Linked DNA regions of Homo sapiens: region 1 is linked to region 2. The links are contacts of gene promoters, found by promoter capture Hi-C in blood cells and fetal thymus (Javierre and others, 2016). All regions are on one chromosome and are shown on one strand. Each heading gives the region's core, a stretch centred on a gene start or on the middle of the fragment in contact. The rest is flanking DNA. Distances are from core to core; before and after follow the strand shown.

Evidence for each region. Contacts are between HindIII fragments. The CHiCAGO score rates a contact against its expected background, and 5 or more counts as called.
Region 1: a contact is called between a fragment that was not itself captured here and the fragment with the promoter of LALBA in region 2, in 1 of 17 cell types (megakaryocytes). The highest score is 5.2, in megakaryocytes.

The regions. Positions count from the first base shown.
Region 1 is chr12:48,240,018-48,242,728 of GRCh38, forward strand. It overlaps a transcript of LOC102725258 not described here. Among named protein-coding and RNA genes, the nearest start is that of OR10AD1, 38 kb to the left of the region's middle. The HindIII fragment of the contact is 1,075 bases long and covers 900-1,974 here.
Region 2 is chr12:48,568,689-48,571,388 of GRCh38, forward strand. LALBA (lactalbumin alpha) reads right to left here and starts at 1,358. Exons shown (of 4, transcript NM_002289.3): 1 at 1,200-1,358; 2 at 394-552. The coding sequence starts at 1,332. The HindIII fragment of the contact is 2,055 bases long and covers 453-2,507 here.

The DNA of each region.
Region 1 (2,711 bases), core at 187-2,686, 330 kb before region 2:
GACAGGCTCTTAAGCAGATGCAAAAATACCTATGTTACAAGCCTGCACATTCTGCACATGTATCCCAGAACTTAAAGTAAAATAAAAAAAATAATAATAAGATCATGCCAGTGGTTTTTAAACATACTTTATGTATTTAATTGAAAATCACATCTCCTTTACCTTCTTTCAGCATATATTGTACTTAAAACTCTGAACATTAGCCCTCAGAATAAGGAAATGAATAATAAAAAAAGCAAAAATAGAAAACTCTAAAATAACTGAAATAATCTAATCACATATAAGATGTAATGAATTTAATAAATGTGAACTTATATTTATATACAATTTATATACATATTGAAAATTAATCACTTAGGCTCACAAGAGAATTCGTTTTAGGATACTTTGTCTGCTCCCTTTAGGCCTTGATGGAATTAATGTCTAAATAGCTTTTGAGATTGTTATGGAAACTAAAAGGATACTGGTATCAAATATCTGGCTATGTCTTACCTACATTTCTTCTGGTCTTATTTATGTTGTCCCAGCCTCACCAAAAATTGAGATTTATGTTTAACCTTTTGTTTACCATGTGATGGACAAATTTGGCAAGTTTGTCAATTTATAATAGTATTTTCTATTGTATCATCTAGACCTTTTTTGAGGTAAATATGATTTCTTTCCCTTTTCTCCATCAATTCTAGATTTTGCCCTCTTGTAGTTTCTTCCACTGCAAATTCTCCGTATCTCTGCAATTGAGGAGCCCTGAACTACACTTCACATTTAATGATGATCTGACTGACACTTTGAGGGATTTTGCTTGGCATGCCACATTTTTACTGCTATCGAAAAGGCAAAAGTACATGCTCTGTTCACAAGGAAACTTCTCTAGCATCCACATGAGTGGGAGATAGCAGATAAGCTTATGGATCTCATATCCACTTATTCTTTCCACCTAAATACTTGATAGTTGTTTATCATCTTCCCTCCAGAGTCCCAATCTAAATTACAAATAAATTAAATATCAAACAAATCTTGGAATAGATTCCTTCTCCTGACAGTAGCCACCCCTAGAAGGTACTTTAAATAATTTGTAAAAACAAACAAAAAAATACCCATTCTGTCACCAAAAAAAAAAAAAAACACCCTAAAAGGTAGAGAGAAAACATAGTTGAAAAGTGACCAGTTACTCCACACATAGATTAGGACCTGCATATTAAGAGTGTGGTTATTTGTACAAGATGAATTTGTAGGAAATTGTACAGAAGGACTTTGTCATTGATGATGGCAAGACTGAGCATTAGACTGGATTTTTTCAATAGTCTTAGCAGGACTATGGTTAATGTGAACTACAGTGCTGTTTATGTTGTCTTGAAAAATTGTACTGATGGTAAAAATAAACAAAGATAAGGGGATGAGATACTGTAATCATATGGGAGATCTTGAATTAAAGAGTTATCTAATCAATGACATAAATAGTATTAGGAAGTGAAATTGATACAAACATACCTTGTTTTTTGTCCTTTGCTTTATTGCACGTCACAGATAGTTTTTTACAAATTGAAGGTTTGTGGCAACCCTGCATTAAGCAAGTCTGTTGGCACCATTTTCCCAACAGCATGTGCTCACTTTGTGTCTCTGTGTCACATTTTGGTAGGTCTCACAATATTTCAAACTTTTATTACTATTATTATTATTATTATTATTGTTATCTGTTATGGTGATCTGCCTTTAGTATTTTTGATGTTACTGTTGTAATTGTTTTGGGGCATCACGGACCACAACCATCTAAGAAGACAAACAATAAATGTATTTGTTCTAACTGCTTCACTAACTGGCTGCTCACCCTCTCTACCTCTCCTTGGCTTCCTTAGTCCCTGTGATATGGCAATACTGAAGTTAGGCCAATTAATAACTCTACAATGGCCTGTAAGTGTTCCAATGAAAGGAAGAGTCACACATCTCTTACTTTAAGTCAGTAGTTAGAAATGACTAAGCTTAGTGAGGAAGGCATGTTGAAAGCTGGGAAAGTCTGAAAGCTAGCTTCCTGCACCAAACAGTTAGCCAAGTGGTGAATGCAAAGAAAATGTTCTTGAAGGAAATTAAAAGTGCTACTCCAGTGGACACACAAATGATAAGAAAGTGAAACAGCCTTATTGCTAATAGGGAGAACGTTTTAATGGTCTGGATAGAAGAACAAACATAAAAGTGTAGGGGAAGGCAGCAAGTGCTGTTGGAGAAGCTGCGAGTTATCCAGAAGATCTAGCTAAGATCAATGATGAAGGTGGCTATGCTAAACAAAAGATTTTCAATATAGACAAAACATCCTTATATTGGAAGAAGAAGCCATCTAAGACTTTCATAGCTATAGAGGAGAAGTCAATGCATTGTTTTAAATCTTCAAAGGACAGGCTGACTCTCTTGTTAGGAACTAATGCACCTGTTAACTTTTAGTTGAAGCCAATGCTCATTCACCATTCTGAAAATCCTAGGGCCCTTAAGAATTACACTAAATCTGCTCTATCTGTGCTCTCTATAAATGGAACAACAAAACCTAAGTGACAGCACAGCTGTTATAGCCTGGTTTATGGAATACTTTAAGTCCACTGTTGAGACCTACTGCTCAGAAAAATAGATTCCTTTCAAAATATTACTACCCATTGATGATGCACCTGGTCATCCAAGAGCTCTGAGGAGATGTACAAGGAGATGAATGTTGTTTTCATGCTGCT
Region 2 (2,700 bases), core at 108-2,607:
AACTCAAGGCTTGTGCCTGTTGTCTTTCTATATGAAAGGACCAATGTGGTAATGTCTAACCCTGGGTAGGGACTTCCTTCATTTCCCTGGGATATCTCTGGAGGAATCATCAGCTTCATCAACTGACTTACCCTGAAAATGCAGACAATCAGATTCCAAGACTCTCAGACAGCTCCGATTGTCTACCACTGAACCTCAAGGAACTGTCTGGGGATTTGATGACCATGAAAAATCCAAACAGCTTCTTACTCAGTACTGCCAATTCAAGTCCCACAATTTTTATAGAGCCCAGCCAAGGCAATGAAGCCTGAGGTCTGCTTGGCACTAAAAAGGAGATTATCCCAAGGGCAGGCCTCAGAAAAACAGAGAAAGAGGGTTATAGGGGCTACTCACTGTCACAGGAGATGTCACAGATGTTCCTTGACTGAGGGACCTGGCTGCTCTTGCACCAAAGCTTATTACTGATCTGGAAGAGTCCATATTCCGTGCTTTCATTGTTTTCAACTATGGCTTGTGTGTCATAACCACTGGTGTGAAACATGGTACAGATCACTGAGGGAAAGATGAGAAAGAGATACCACAGAGATGTACAGGATCTGCATAAAGGAGGAACTGTAATTCTCAGACAAAAATGCTTTCCAGCCAATCTCCAAAGATGGCAAAGCTCAGAGTTTCTTGATGAGATGGAGAATTCCAAAAAAAAATCAGACAATAAGAGAAAGAAAGGATAGGAAAATAAATGGGGCCAGGCATGATGGCTCACGCTTGTAATCCCAACACTTTGGGAGGCTGAGGAGGGCGGATCACCTGAGGTCAGAAGTTTGAGACCAGCCTGGCCAACATGGTGAAACCCTGTCTCTACAAAAAATACAAAATTAGCCAGGCATGGTGGTGGGTGCCTGTAATTCCAGCTACTTGGGAGGCTGAGGCAGGAGAATCACTTGAACCGAGGAGGCGGAGGTTGCAGTGAGCCGAGATTACACCATTGCACTCCAGTCTGGGCAACAAGAGCGAAACTCCACCTCAAAAATAAATAAATACATACATATATACATACATGAAATAAAAGAGTATGCAAATGAGCAGAAAAGAGGATGATTAGATAATTAAGTAAAAGTGGAGGGGCGAAGTGGAAGAAAGAGGGGATGGAGGAGAGAAGCGTATGAGGAATGGATGAAACACAGAGGCAGGGAACTCACATTCAGGCAAAGCGATGCCTCCATAACCATCTATGTCTTTCAGCAGCTGGGACAGCTCACATTTTGTGAATTGCTTGGCCAGGATGGCAGGGAACAGGATGCCCACCAGGAACAGAGGGACAAAGAACCTCATTTTGGCTACCCCCAAGAACCTGAAATGGAAGCATCACTCAGTTTCATTTATTTATATTCATGCAGAAAGCCTCAGGGGCTCTGGTACCAAGCCCTACATCTAGGAAGAGAATGAAGAGAGACTGGTCATGCCAAGACAGAAACGCTGAGCCTGCCAGCTTCCTTCCATAATTCACCCTACTTTTCCTTTCCCTCTCCCAGTATCTAGTCCATAGCAGGTATTGTTCTCTGGCCAGAAAGAGTTCAAACCATGATCCTGCTTCCCATTTGGCTTTGTTTAGCCCTTTGTTTCTTGTAGGGTTGGTTCTGGGAAGCACTGTCTCTGGTTACTTGAGGAACAAAGAAGGGCATGGGGGCAATATAAGAAGTGAGGCAATCAGAAAATACAATAAAGTTCTATACCGAGCTTCCCCCTTCCCCCCTAGAGACATGCAGAATGTGGAGAGGGGGTGTATGTCATCACATGCCACAGTCCCAGGATCAGAGCTGGCACTTGTCCAACCAATCCAGCCATGTAACAAGGCCCAGAATTAGTTCTTTAATATGGTAGCTCATGACTGAAGGCTCAGAAATAGGAATAGAATATGGGAACGTAGACTACAACAATCCGATATAACTTGGATCTTAAGACTTCCTACTTAAGGAAAATGCATAATTGAAAAGCCTGTATGAAAGCATCTAGGCCAGGCACAGTGGCTCACACCTGTAATCCCGGCATTTTGGGAGGCCGAGTCTGGTGGATCACTTGAGCCCAGGAGCTCGAGACCAGCCTGGGCAACATGGTAAAATCCCATCTCTACAAAAAAAATTAGCTGGGCATGGTGACATGTGCCTGTAGTCCCAGCTACTTGAGGGGCTGAGGCAGGAGGAACACTTGAGCACAGGAGGTCGAGGCTGCAGTGAGCCATGTTCACTCCACTGCACTCCATCCATCCTGGGAGACAAAGTGAGACCCTATCTTTAAAAAAAAAAAAAAAAAAAAAGAATCTAGCTATCCTACGAGCTATTATCAGATTCCCCACCCCTAACCACTCCTACCGTAAATAACCAAATACTACACTGGCATTGAGACATTACATAAATCTAAGACCAATAACTTGTAGACAACCTCAGAGTTGGCCACAGAAAGTGGGAAGGACCCAAGCCAGTGGAAAGATTGGACTTTAAGGCTGAACAAGCTTATGTCTGGAATCTCTATAAGGTCAGTGCCCCTGAGCAAGTAGAGTTGAGGATACTAGTTCTGAATAGCTCCTTTAATTTGCTGGCATGAAGCTTCATGTCATGGTGACAAGTAGCTCTTAGCTCCTTCATGCCACCATTCGTCTTCTTTGTCCTCATCTCTAAACCTGATTTCTTCTTCTTCTTCCTT